Linked DNA regions of Homo sapiens: regions 1, 3, 4 and 5 are each linked to region 2. Evidence: promoter capture Hi-C in 16 types of primary human blood cells and fetal thymus (Javierre and others, 2016). All regions are on one chromosome and are shown on one strand. The core of a region is centred on a gene start or on the middle of the fragment in contact, and the rest is flanking DNA. Distances in the headings are between cores, read along the strand shown. Region 1 overlaps SPTLC2 (serine palmitoyltransferase long chain base subunit 2). Region 2 holds the start of ALKBH1 (alkB homolog 1, histone H2A dioxygenase). Region 3 overlaps SPTLC2 (serine palmitoyltransferase long chain base subunit 2). Region 4 overlaps ISM2 (isthmin 2). Region 5 overlaps SPTLC2 (serine palmitoyltransferase long chain base subunit 2).

Region 1 (2,700 bases), core at 163-2,662, 160 kb after region 2:
GTGAGCGCTCCTTTCCCCTTCCTCCCAACTTTTTCCGCATTTCCCCTCCAGTTTCTATCCTTTTCCCAAGGAAGAACAGGACATATGACTAGGTTGACAGATCTTGAAAGGCAACTTCACTAGGATCTCAGGTGAGATAATAATGAATGGGAATTGTGCTGCCAGGATGCCTGTACCTGGAGTGGGAATACTGAGCACAGGCCAGGGAGTAGAAAAAATGAGGCCTAGGAAATTCTGTTAAATTCCACTAGACATTTGAAATTCTAACTTTTACTTTACACATCACTAATCCGTGTCCACTAATGGAAATTTAGCTGTAGTATCTACATACGAATCAAGGCAAAGTGTTTGACCAAATCAACTAAAATTTTGCTTTTCCATTTTCCAGAGCTGTGCTTTGATGTATTTTATTTCTGTCCAAAGGTGTAGTTAATAATAACATGCATAGCACCCAGCTTAGTGTGTGACATCTAGGATCCTTTCAGTAAATTTATTGAATGACTGAATGAATGCACGCATGATTGGCAATACCAGAAAATCAGTGGGTTCTTCAAGTACTTTATTGTAACATTGCTTGAATAGTTGAATGTTAAGCCAGAATGACCAAATTATGGAACCAAATTAACTAGATAGGTACATTTTAATAGATACATTTTTAAATAATGTCAGAACGCTTTATAGAGTTTTGTACTTCTTTGTTTTGAAAGGAACTGGGTCCTTGCAGGCAGCTACTGATGTAGGAGAAAAAAGACTACCCTGAGCAGATTGAGGTTTAATTAAAACTAGGTTTGGCTCATTTGAATTAATTCCAGTAATAGACTTGTTAATTAGGTGTTAAATGATCACCTTGAGAATACCGGGGAACTGTCAAAAACTAAGAGAACTGAGACACTTAAAAAAAAAAAAAAAAAAAAAAAAAAAGACATTCCAGGACAATGCAGTGGCACATGCCTGGAGTCCCAGCTACTCAGGAGGCTGAGGCACGAGGATCGCTTGAGCCCAAGAGTCCTGGGCTGTAGCACACTGTGCCAGAGACGTGTCTGCACCAAGTTCAGCCATCAGTATGATGACCTCCCAGAAGTAGGGGACCACCAGGTTGCCTAAGGAGGGGTGAATTGGCCCAGGTTGGAAACGAACAGGTTAAAACTTCCCCTGCTGATCAGTAGTGGGATTACGCCTGTGAATAGCCACTGCACTCCAGCCTGGGCAACATAGCGAGACCTTGTCTCTTTAAAACAAAACAAAACAAAAAAACATTCCAAGATTCCCATGCAGAAGGGTTAGAAGTGTTGAAAAAACACAGCCTTGCTGGGAGGGGGTCATAAAGAGAGACTTTCCTGCCTGTCTTCAGGGCTGACAGCTTTTAACCCTCCCGTCAAGCACCATACTTCCTGAGCCCAAGAACGTTTGGGTGTTGACTTTCTTCTTTGTTGTGCTTTAAAGTAATTTATTTCACTATTAGAAATTCATCGAAATAAAAATTAAGTTTTCTGGTAAGCACAGTTTTGTTCTTACCCACAGTAGAGTTTAGCAGTTTATCTGATGCTGGGAATCAGACTCGCTTCCTCCTGTTTTGTGACTTTCTGCCTAGAATGCTGTTGTTTGGAAAAAAAAAAAAAAATACTTGTTTCCGCCGGGTGCGATGGCTCACACCTGTAATCCCAGCACTTTGGGAGGCCGAGGCAGGCGGATCACCTGAGGTCGGGAATTCAAGACCAGTCTGACCAACATGGAGAAACCCTGTCTCTAATAAAAATATGAAAATTAGCTGGGTGTGGTGGCGCATGCCTGTAATCCCAGCACTTTGGGAGGCCAAGGCAGGCGGATCACCTGAGGTCGGGAATTCAAGACTAGCCTGACCAACATGGAGAAGCCCTGTCTCTAATAAAAATACGAAAATTAGCTGGGCGTGGTGGCGCATGCCTGTAATCTCAGCTACTTGGGAGGCTGAGGCAGGAGAATTGCTTGAACACAGGAGGTTGCGGTGAGCTGAGATCGCGCCATTACACTCCAACCTGGGCAACAAGAGCGAAACTCCATCTCCAAAAAAAAAAAGTGTTTTACCATTTGTTAAACACTTATCAAGCAACAAGCAACTACTCTCTACATAGTGGTAGATATGCTGTGTGGGAGATGCAGAGTTGAACAATAGGTGATCTTTGCCTTTGAAAAAACAGTCCAGTGGTAGGGGTAAGATTCCCGGGAAGAACTAGTCTCAGAGGCACAGATAAATTCTTCCTTTGTTCAGCTTGTCTTTTCTCAATTTCCTCCTCCATTCTCTTCTACAACCTCCTCCTTCACTCACTCCCACTCCCCTAAAACCTTAAACTTCCTTAAACCAGCTAAGTTTTTGAAGCAAACTCATATTTTAGATTTCTTATATAATAACTTTCTATATAAATGAAATTTTTCTGTGGATACTGTCACTCTAGTAAATTATCAGCAATCAAAGCAGCTTCTTGATTATTTTTTAAAGCAGCTTCTTGATTATTGAGCACAAAAGGCCTTTTAACCAATGGCTTAAGCCTTCTGAAATCAGCAAGCAATATGACCACCTTACAGGTGGAGAAATTTGAGCTCATGTATGGAACAAGTTTTCTCAATATCTTGTCTCCAACTAGAATGTAGCTTTTCTAACTCCATCTGCTTCTACTTCTGAGGTTGCATGATGATAGTTAGCATTTTATTAAAACAGACTAT
Region 2 (2,700 bases), core at 92-2,591:
TCTACTACTCACATCTGAGCCACTAAAAACTTAGAAGAAACTAAATCTTGCTCCATTTTGTTTCCAGGGGTTGACCTGAAACATGAATATCTACAAAAAGAGTGACCACGAATGTTTACATGTTGGTAAGCAAATATAAAAACCTCATCTCAAAACTGCAGCTGACAAAAATTGAAGGTGGTGAAAGATTTCAGAACTAATTATTCCAACCTTTATCTGTAGACTAGGCCTCTCCCGTAAGTTTCAATTTTAGTTACCGTGAAAATAACTATCATTTGCTGAGTACTTACACTGTATCTAACACAAGTCTAAGAAGTTTGCATATAAACTCAATCCTCTCAACAATCCTATGAGTTGGGTATTATTGACTCCATTTTATCGATGAGTAAACTGAGGCCCAGTTGTGAGCCCTTTTCCCATACTAACTTCAGTTATTCAAGTGATAACAACGATTAAATGGCCAAGTTGGAATTCTAACCCCAACGGTCTAGCTTCGGAGTCCACTTCTCAGCCACAATGATATACAACCTTTGTCCAATTGCCTGACGGAAACCTCACAAGTTTCTCAAAGTCAACACATTCAAACTTTACTCATCTTCTCTTGGCCTGCTCCTAACTTCTAAACAAACAATTCACCAATGCTAAAAACCCAGAAATCATTTCTCCCTTTCCTTTATTCCGTACACTTCTCCCACTTAAGCCATCACGAAACGGCATCTAATTTGCTTTTAAAACATTAATGCATCTGACCACCATCCTTCTACCATCGCCCTAATTCAGGTCCTCACGTTTTAAGTAAATTAATGAAATTGCCTTTTAGCTCCTCTGCACGCCTACAATCTTGCCACCTTGAATCCATCCTCCACACTACAGTCAAAATTATCCCTTCTAAATTGTAAATCTTGGTTACCAAGTAATAAATCTTTACACCAAATCACTCCTAAAGGCAAGAGCCGGTGCATTCGTGACCCCAAAAGCTCAAGGGACATCCCTAAACGGTTAACTGCAAACAAAATTTCTTTCTGCTCACTTGCATGCTCAGGAGCAGTCTCCTAATTCAGCCACCACGCTGACTTAAGTACCCTGCAAAAAGCAGAAGCTTTGAGGATCACTTGGACCTAAAAATTCCACTACTCCCACATCTCCATCACTCACTCGACGCCGCAGTCCAAGGAATTCTTCTCACAAAAGCAACCGGCTGATTGATACTTCTACGCAGCGCCGCAGCACCTCTCGCTGCTGAGGCCGCCATCTTCAGACTAAAGCACCTTCTCGAGCCGAGGTCGCGGCCCCGGAAAAAATTTCCGGATCCGGAACACGAGAGAATCTGCTTCCGGATCAGAGGGTATAGGCCGCGAGATGGGGAAGATGGCAGCGGCCGTGGGCTCTGTGGCGACTCTGGCGACTGAGCCCGGGGAGGACGCCTTTCGGAAACTTTTCCGCTTCTACCGTCAGAGCCGGCCCGGGACCGCAGACCTGGAAGGGGTCATCGACTTCTCGGCGGCCCACGCAGCCCGTGGCAAGGGTCCTGGTGCCCAAAAGGTACAGAGAGAGGAGTGGCGCGCGTCTCTCCATCGCTTTGCCCCGCGTCTTGGAGGGACTTACGTGTCTTCTTCGCCTCTTTTCACCTCCAGACCGATTGTTATTGAACGATTCCTGACCTCCTTTGGCTGCAGAGTCGAACTCCCCACTAACCGTCACACTTAGCAATAAAGCGTTGAGATGCCTGTTTCTTTAGGCGGCCATTCCTGGCGGGGGCGCTCAGTCAAAAGAGCCTGGGAATCCGTGTTTATTTCTTACTGTAACTGTCTCCTCACATTTCTGTTTGGGTTTTTGTAAAACCCCATAGAACGTCTTTGTAGACGGTAGGGTAGACTTCTGCAGCTTAAAAAAAACCACTCCCGAGGAATCCCAGAACTGACAGGGATGCGGCGCTGTTTGTTAAGCCACTGTGCGTAAAACTAGTCCCTGTCTTCTCCTCTGGCTCTTTTAGAAGGAGGTCATTGAAGGATTCTGAGAATCCCTCCGTGTTGAAAATAAATGGCAAACAAGTATATATGGAATACAGGCACCGTTCTCTCTCTCAGCTTTTCCCCATGGAGATTAAGAAGGGGAACACAGTCCGGGAGCGGTGGCTCAAGCCTGTAATCCCGCACTTCGGAGGCCGAGGCGGGTGGATCGCTTGAACCCAGGGGTTCGAGACCAGCCTGGGGCATGGCAAGACCCCCGTTTCCGCCAAAAATACAAAAAATTAGCCAGTCTCATAACCTGTTCTCAAGTAAATAGATTTTTTAAAAATTATTTTTTTAAGGGAACATAACAGGCAAGAGGGAAAACGGGGAACCAAAACTGTAGTCCAATTTATATTTTCTTTCTTTACAATCCACTTTAACGTTGAGGATATGCAGTCCCTTAATTTGCTCTTGGTGTTGTCCACAGATGTCTAGATGAGGCATTCTTTCCAAGCTTCCTAACAGCTCTGATAAAATTGGGATGCTACAGTATTAAGTGTTAATGATTGCATACTTGAGCTCAGCTTTTCAGCACCTTCATTTGTTAGGGAAAAAAAGTGGTCTTAGAGTTGTCAAAATACAGAAAGTCCACACCCCAATAATAATATACTTTTTCTCTCCAGAGCGCTTCAGACTCTCATTCAGCTCCTTTTACCTACATTTTACCATAATATGTACATGCTTTTTA
Region 3 (2,700 bases), core at 11-2,510, 200 kb after region 2:
TCTCCATAACCCCCAAAGTACTGCTTATTTGTTTGAAGAATCCAGCCATCGTAGTGCTTTAGTCACTATCGTAAACATTCATGATAGGGCAAGGATTTTAAAACAGGATTCTTGCTTCTGTAGTCATCAAGGTGAACAGAAGCATCCTACACAACCACTAAGGGCTCTATGTTTGTGTCATGCCTCTTCAAACACCAAGGAGTTGAACATGCTTCCAGTGATTTGTCTCCGTAATGCCTTCTTCCTTTATTTGGCCTTTCTTTCTTTCTGTACCTTCAAGTTCTTGATTTTTAAAATTCCAACTCTAGAGAAAACCAATATATGGTGGTGCTGGGCTTTGAAGATAGCATATCAGACGCCTTGGTTCTGTTTGTACACTTAGCCTTACATTTCAGGAGGAGGCTTTTCATTAGGGGCTTAAGCTAGCTCCTTTGGCTTTTAAAAAAAATTTTTTTTCAAATTTCTTCATTACCTAAGGGAGCCTGCATCTAAATTTCTCAACTAGTTCAGCCTAGCTGAATTTTCTAGTGTGTTATACACTTTGCTTCCTTCTTATTGGTGAAAACCAGGGGGATGAGTGGCTTCCATGGAGAGATTTCCTGATTTCTCAGGGAGGAAAAAAGTGATGACATTTACCACTACTTTTATGTTTTTCCCCTTTTTCCAAATTGATAAGGATTTCTGGTTCCTAGTGATCCGGGATTGGGCAACAGTGCAGAACTGCCAGTCATGCCGTAGGCCGTGAAGAAAGAATGTGAGTAACTGTTGTTTTGCAAGGATTTGTAGGGTTATGGGCAGTTGTTGTTTGAAGCATTGCTATGACCTAATTCCCAAGGTATCTTTCCTCTCTTGGTGTTCTAGGTAAGCCAATGAGCTTTAATCTCTACTTGCTATAACCGTGTGCTTAGAAAAAGAGGTGAGAGTAGTGGTTTTCCTTCAAACTGTCCACATTCATGAAGATTATGAATTGTTAGGACAGCCAGGGCAAGATAGACCCTGTCTCTACAAAAATTTTTTTCTAAATTAACCGGGCATGGTGGTGCCTGCCTGTAGTCCCACCTGTGTGGGAGAATCACTTGAGCCTGGGAGGTCAAGGCTGCAGTGAGCCATGATTGCACCCCTGCACTCCAGCCTGGGTGACAGAGTGAGACCCTGGCTCAATAAGAGGGGGAAAAAAAATTGTTAGGAGCTGGGTGCGGATGCAGCCTGCAATCCCAGCTACTTGAGAGGCTGAGGCCGGAGGATTGCTTAAACCCAAGAATTTGAGCGTAGCCTGGGCAACACAGCAAGACCCCATCTAAGAAAAAAATGTTTTTTAAATCAGCTTAGCCCAAAGGGGTTGTGAATGGGGAGGTATAAAAAGCAAAGATTATTTTTTGGCTACTAAGCCAAGAACTTACAGGGATTTTTTTTTTCAGTCCCAGAACCTACAGATACCCTGCTACTTGCTTCACGTGGATGCTCAGTGCCCAGCAGCCATCTTAATACATTAAACCAGTTTAAAAAATACCTTCCATGTGGAGAAAAACATGTCTTTTTCTCGCCTCAACTTTATCCACATGAAATATGTGCCCATGGCTGGGCGCAGTGGCTCACCTGTAATCCCAACACTTTGGGAGGCTGAAGCAGGCAGATTGCTTGAGGCCAGGAGTTCGAGAACAGTCTGGCCAACATGGCGAAACCTCATCTCTACTAAAATTACAAAAATTAGCCGGGCATGGTGGCACATGCCTGTAATCCCAGCTACGTCAGGAGGCTGAGGCACAGGAATTGCTTGAACCCAAGAGGCAGAGGATGCAATGAGCCAAGATCACACCACTGCACTCCAGCCTTGGCGACAGAGGGAGACTCTGTCTCAAAAAAAAAAAAAAAAGGTGTGCCCAGGCCCCTAGCCATTGCCATGTGCCCAGCCAGAGAGCCAAATTAGAGGGCTGGCTTCCCTATCACACAGAATAAATGCTAGTGCTAGCCAATGATCCCTTTGCTTTTAATGTATAGAAAATACTGTTGTTCCTTTTGTCATTTCCAGTGACATCTGTTTTCTAAGCAGCTCTTTTCTAGGGAGGAAACCAAAGGGGCTAGGTTAAGACCCTAATAGAAATGTTTTTTCTAATCTCTGGTGAGTCTGGAAGTGTCACATTCACAGTCCACCCTTGGGAGTGGCTTGGTGGAGCTGGGGACAAGGTTTTGTTTACTACATAGTGCACATGATAAATGGCCTTAAACTGTGATTCTTTCTGGTAGGATAAGTTATAATAAACTGACCCTAAAGAATGCAATGGCTTTTAAACTGCAGTTACTGTGTTCTTAATGAAGCAATACCCAAAGCTCTGTTCTTTTGGAGCACTTGAGGGGAGCTTGAATGAAAGGTGCAGATAAGAGCAGTACCTTGATCTTATGCTTTCTGAGTGTCCTGCCTTGTTGCCATCTGCATGGATGAGTGAATGCTTCTATGCACGAGGAGACTCAAGCCAACTCAGAGTCTGCTTTTTCCAACGCTCTTCCCAGGTTTCTTTTGCAAAGCTTGGTCATTTGGCCCAGGTCTTCCTGGAAAGTGGAGTACATGTCACTGACTAGGGTGGCGTGGTGTCTTTACCCTTAACATTAAGTCTTGTTACCTCAGTGATGTGAAGCCAATGGTTGGAATTATAAAAAGCATCCTTGCTGGTTCTTCACAGGACACTGGAACCCACCCTGTCA
Region 4 (2,700 bases), core at 142-2,641, 220 kb after region 2:
GCTGAGACAGAACAAAGGGCAGAGGAAGGAGCCTGGGGTCCCTGAGAAACCTGAGGCAGTGTCATGAACATGGTGGGGGTGCCCCCCCAGCACTTCAGTCCCGGTCCATTGTCCAGCCAGTTGCCTGGAAGCAGGGGCTGGATTGCCGGAGATTTGCAAGGTCTCACCTGCCAGGTGGGTGGCAATGAGAAGGATGTATTTCCTAAAGGCTGATTTTATCTGGTTGTGGGGTCTTTCTAGCCCAATCAGTGAGTGAGTGCCAGGGGAGAACTAGAACCTAGGTCTGTGTGGTGCCAAGCCTGTGGCCTCACCTGCTAGCCTTCTCCTGCAGCTGGCCACCTTCCTGGACCTCAGCTATGGCCTTCCTTATCCCTCCAGACCATTCAGTCTCTAAAGGGTTGGAAAAGCCCCCAGGGAGGGAGAGAGAGAAGGACAGGAATGAGGCCTGGAAGCTTGGCTGCCCAGAGGCCTCAGGCAAGTCTCCAGCCTCTCCGATCTCAGTCTCAGGTTGTTACGAGGATCAAAGGGAAGGATGGACGTGGAGAGTTGAACATCCTGTATAGTGTTTTGTTCATCCAGCACATTCAGCACCGCAGAGCAGCAGGCGGCAAACCAGAAGGTGCAGCCACTGCCTGGAGTTAGCAAAGCACAAGGCTTAAGAGCACAAACTCCAGCCATACCACTGACATCAAATCCCACTCTGCCAGCCCCTAGCTGTGTGACTCCAGGCAAGTTACGTTACCTCTCTGATCCTTGGCTGCATTGTCTATGAAGTGAAGATGATGCTCACACCTACCTAAAGTGTTGTTGTGAGAATCCAGTGAGTCTGTACATATAGGGTGATCGGCAAGACTGGCTCCGTTCTTTTTCTTTCTTTTTTTATTGCCTTTACCTGGGAAAGCCAACTGGCCACATTTTTTGTGGGGCCCAGTGCAGAATGAAAATGTTGGGCTTCTTGGCCGGGTGCAGTGGCTCACGCCTGTAATCCCAGCACTTTGGGAGGCCGAGGCGGGCGGATCACGAAGTCAAGAGATTGAGACCATCCTGGCTAACATGGTGAAACCCCATCTCTACTAAAAATACAAAAAATTAGCCGGGCGTGGTGGCTCACGCCTGTAATCCCAGCACTTTGGGAGGCCGAGGAGGGCGGATCACGAAGTCAGGAGATTGAGACCATCCTGGCTAACACGGTGAAACCCCATCTCTATTAAAAATACAAAAAATTAGCTGGGCATGGTGGCGGGCGCCTGTAGTCCCAGCTAATTGGGAGGCTGAGGCAGGAGAATAGCGTGAACCCGGGAGGCTTAGCTTGCAGTGAGCCAAGATCGTGCCACTGCACTCCAGCCTGGGCGACAGAGCAAGACTCCATCTCAAAAACTAAAATAAAAAAAGAAAATATGAGGCTTCTTAGCTATTTCCAAAGGGCAACAGCAGAGCGTTAAACTAAATATGGGGCTCAGTGCAAAGACACAGGTTGCACACCATGAAGCCGGCCCTGTGCGGGGAGCACTATGCTTGGTCAGCACTACTCTTATTACAGTGAGGAGCTTTGCAGCCTCCGCTGGGTGCCAGGGTGGGTTGGCTTAGAATAGTACATACCTAATCCCAGCTACTCAGGAGGCTGAGGTGGGAGGATTATTTGAGCCCAGGAATATCGAGGCCAGTCTGGGCAACATAGCAAGACCCAGTCTTAAAAAAAAAGAATAGTACTTACCAATCAGGAAGGTAGTTGAGGGAGAATGAAATCCAGCCCTATTCCTCTGCCTGTGGCTAAAGAGGCCTGACTAAAGAGTCAATTGCTATTGTAGGCAGGGTCTCAGGCCCGGCTAAAGAGGCAATTGCTGTGTTGTATGCAGGGTCTCAGGCCTGGCTAAAGAGGCAATTGCTGTTGTGTGCTGGGTCTCCAGCACCTCCCACCAGCATGACTTAGTGTGCAGCCTGGCTCTGTGTGGTTGGGCCTGGGCTTCAGGAGCTAGGGCTGCGGGACCTGCACTTGGTGACTGAATTTAATTATCCAGAACAAGTTTCTGACCCCTGAGGCACAAAGGAGAAGGGAGAACAGGGAACTGTGAAGGGGCTGAAACAGGTTAGCAGGCGGGCTCACGCAATGCAGTAAGGGTCTGTGGGGATTGGGACTCTGTTGTGTTAACTGGAAACACGTGGGTCAGGGGCTGCCCGGCCAAGCCTGGGAAGGTAAGCATAGGGGTGAGAGAGAGAGAGAACTGGTAAAGATATACCTCAGATGTATCTCTATTTGGGCAGTGACACCACCCCCCAAAAGAATGGCCTTGTGTGTTTGTACATGCATGCAACTCCACATGTAAGCTTAGAAGATGGAGAGAGGTGGTCTTGTGAGACAGGACTGGAGTTCTTCAACAACCTGGAGTCTCAGAATTCCCCTCAGAATGCCATGAGGATACACCTGCCGAGTGATTTTGCAGCAGTGTTCGGGGGACCTGAATGAGGTGTGAAGAACTGGCATGTTGCCTGGCGAGGGGGGTGCCCCTGATGGCTCCTCTGTCTGCCTTCTGAGTACCATCTGTCGCCACCTCTGGGTAACGTTCATTGCATGCTTAGCACCTACAAGGTACTATTCTAATTCAACAACCCTATGAGACAGGCGCTGGTGTTTCCCTAAATTACAGAGGAAGGAACTAAGGCAGATTAAGTAACCTGCCGGAGGTCATGCAGCTAGTAGGT
Region 5 (2,700 bases), core at 96-2,595, 140 kb after region 2:
TATTTTCTCCCCCAGTTTCGCTTTTTCAATTTTAACACTTTTTTGAAACTTTAATTTAGACTTACAAAAAGAGTTACAAAAGAGTACAGAGAGTTCCTGTATACCATTCATTCAGCTTCCCTTTATGTTAACATCTTGCATAACAGTGGAACTGTTTCTTACAGCTAAGAAATTAACTGTGACACAATACTATAACTAAAGTACAGGACGTATTTGGTTTTCACCAGTTTTTCCGCTTCAGGATCCAGGTGAGGATCCACATTGTCTTTAGCTGTTGTAGCTCCTCAGTCTCCTCCAATCTGGGATAGTTCCTGTTTTTCTTTGTCTTTCATGACCTTAATACTTCTGAAGGGTACTGGTCCCTTATTTTGTAGAATGTCTCCAATTTGGGTCTGTCTGTTGTGTTGTTATGGTTTGATTGAGTCCGTGCGTTATTGAGAAAGCTACCACAGAAGTGATACCATTCTCAGTGAATCATGCGAGAGACTATGTGGTTTTGATACATATTACTGATGATGTAAATCTTAATCGCTTGTCTCAGGTGTCAGCGGGGATTTTCTACTACCAACTTACTGCTTTTCTCTTTGTAATCACCATATATTGTGGCAGAGATACTTTGGGACTGTATATAGCATTTTGGATTAAACTTTCACCCACTAACTTTAGTATGCATCTGTGATCTTGCCTGTGGCAGTTATTACCTTGGTGTTCTTTTTTTTTTTTTTTTTTTTTTTTTTGAGATGGAGTTTTGCTCTTGTTGCCCTGGCTGGAGTGCAGTGGCGCCATCTCAGCTCATTGCAACCTCTGCTTCCTGGGTTCAAGCAATTCTCCTGCCTCAGCCTCCTGAGTAGCTGGGATTACAGGCACCCACCACCATGCCCGGCTAATTTTTTGTATTTCTTAGTAGAGATGGGGTTTCACCACGTTGGCCAGGCTGGTCTCAAACTCCTGACCTCAGGTGATCCAGCCACCTCAGCCTCCCAAAGTGCTGGGATTACAGGCGTGAGCCACCGCACCCGGCTTACCTTGGTGTTCTAATGGTGATTTTTCTATTTTTCTCATTCTTTCTATACTTACTAATTAGAATTTTTGTGTAAGGAAGAGTTCTTGCTTCTCCCTTATTTATTTCTGTCGTTGTGGGTTTGTGAATATTTTTATTATTTGGCTTATAATTCAACACAATTGCTTCTTTTTTGTTGCTCGAGTTTTAGTTTTGGCCATTGGGAGCTGCTTCAGGTGGGTACCTGTGTCCTTTGAATATATAATAACTTTTTTTTTTTAAAGCATTCTTATACTTTCTGGCATGATAAAATGCTCCAGGATCATCTTATATTTTCCCTATCCCAGTTTTGGAATTAACCAGTTCTCCAAGAAGTGCTGGTTCTTTTTTTTGGAGAATGATATTTAGAAACCAAGGTCTGGGAACTAGGTGTGTTTATTGCTGAAGGAGTATCACTGCTTCTCACCTCTCAGTGACTAGAGCTAGAAAATGTATGTATATATGCGAACTCATGCATACACACACATCTGTGTGTGTGTGTGTGTGTGTGTGTGTGTGTGTGTGTGTGTGTGTGTGTGTATGCATGCATAAAGATTTGAAAGCCAGGAGTCTATTGATACTGCCGGCTCTAGTCTTCTCCTTTTCCTTATTCTCCTTCTTCTCCTTCTCCTCCTTCTCCTCCTCTTCCTCCTTTTCCTCCTCTTCCTCCTCTTCCTCCTCCTCCTCCTTTTTTTTTTTTTTTTCCCCCCAGACAGAGTCTCCCTCTGTTGCCCAGGCTGGAGTGCAGCAGCACAATTTCGGCTCACTGCCTCACTGCCTCAGCCTTTTGTGTAGCAGAGATTTGAGGCGCCTGCCACCACGCCCAGCTAATTTTTTTGTGTTTTCTTTTTAGTAGAGATGGGGTTTTGCCATGTTGGCCAGGCTGGTCTCGAACTCCTGACCTCAAGTGATCCACCCACCTTGGCCTCCCAAATTGCCAGGATTACAGGCATGAGCCACCATGCCTGGCCACTTCATTTTTAATCTGTACATTTTTAACCAGGTAGCTTTTTTATCTTAATAAATACTATGTGCATAATAAAAATTTCAAACACAACTACTGTTACAAGTTTCTTAAGTATTCCTTTAAGAATATTCTGTAATAAATAAGCATGTATATATATAGTTGACCCTTGAACAACATGGTTTGAACCATGCAGGTCCACTTACACGTGGATTTTTTTCAACCAAATATGGAGCAGAAATACAGTTTTCAGCCAGGCACAGTGTCTCACACCTGTAATCTTGGCACTTCGGGACGCTGAGGCGGGTGGATCACCTGAGGTCAGGGGTTCAAGACCAGCCTGGCCAACATGGTGAAACCCCATCTCTACTAAAAATACAAATATTAGCTGGGCCTGGTGGTGGGCTCCTGTAATCCCAGCTAGCTGGGACGCTGAGGCAGGAGAATCGCTTGAATCTGGGAGGCAGAGGTTGCAAGTGAACCAAGATCGCACCACTGCACTCCAGCAACAAGAGCAAGACTCCATCTCACACACACACATACACACAATATAGTATTCATGGAACACAAAACCCAAGTATATGGAGGGCCTGCAGGTCCCACAGGGCCAACTGCAGGACATGAGCATGGATGGATTTGGATAAATGTGAGGGTGAGGCAGTTCTGGAACCAAGTCCTCCTGTAGACTGAGGGATGA

What was found. The method cuts DNA at HindIII sites, captures the fragments that hold promoters and counts their contacts. A CHiCAGO score of 5 or more calls a contact.
Region 1: a contact is called between a fragment that was not itself captured here and the fragment with the promoter of ALKBH1 in region 2, in 1 of 17 cell types (monocytes). The highest score is 5.5, in monocytes.
Region 3: a contact is called between a fragment that was not itself captured here and the fragment with the promoter of ALKBH1 in region 2, in 1 of 17 cell types (monocytes). The highest score is 6.1, in monocytes.
Region 4: a contact is called between a fragment that was not itself captured here and the fragment with the promoter of ALKBH1 in region 2, in 1 of 17 cell types (total B cells). The highest score is 5.4, in total B cells.
Region 5: a fragment that was not itself captured here is called in contact with the fragment with the promoter of ALKBH1 in region 2 in 10 of 17 cell types (monocytes, naive CD8 T cells, activated CD4 T cells and 7 more); the score reaches 19.7 in monocytes.

The regions. Positions count from the first base shown.
Region 1 is chr14:77,546,096-77,548,795 of GRCh38, reverse strand. All of the region lies in intron 9 of SPTLC2 (serine palmitoyltransferase long chain base subunit 2), which reads left to right. It also overlaps the pseudogene RN7SL587P. Among named protein-coding and RNA genes, the nearest start is that of ISM2, 49 kb to the right of the region's middle. The HindIII fragment of the contact is 4,311 bases long and covers 1-2,700 here.
Region 2 is chr14:77,706,664-77,709,363 of GRCh38, reverse strand. It overlaps ALKBH1 (alkB homolog 1, histone H2A dioxygenase), which reads left to right and starts at 1,341. Exons shown (of 6, transcript NM_006020.3): 1 at 1,341-1,542. The coding sequence starts at 1,360. It overlaps SLIRP (SRA stem-loop interacting RNA binding protein), which reads right to left and starts at 1,261. Exons shown (of 4, transcript NM_031210.6): 1 at 1,156-1,261. The coding sequence starts at 1,252. RefSeq lists an enhancer at 1,378-1,707. The HindIII fragment of the contact is 1,367 bases long and covers 1,102-2,468 here.
Region 3 is chr14:77,506,506-77,509,205 of GRCh38, reverse strand. It overlaps SPTLC2 (serine palmitoyltransferase long chain base subunit 2), which reads left to right. Exons shown (of 12, transcript NM_004863.4): 12 at 1-2,700. Among named protein-coding and RNA genes, the nearest start is that of ISM2, 9.0 kb to the right of the region's middle. The HindIII fragment of the contact is 2,530 bases long and covers 1-2,525 here.
Region 4 is chr14:77,488,554-77,491,253 of GRCh38, reverse strand. The region is part of intron 1 of ISM2 (isthmin 2); the gene reads left to right. Among named protein-coding and RNA genes, the nearest start is that of ISM2, 8.9 kb to the left of the region's middle. RefSeq lists enhancers at 1-94, 95-596. The HindIII fragment of the contact is 1,873 bases long and covers 455-2,327 here.
Region 5 is chr14:77,563,280-77,565,979 of GRCh38, reverse strand. All of the region lies in intron 5 of SPTLC2 (serine palmitoyltransferase long chain base subunit 2), which reads left to right. Among named protein-coding and RNA genes, the nearest start is that of SPTLC2, 52 kb to the left of the region's middle. The HindIII fragment of the contact is 3,238 bases long and covers 1-2,700 here.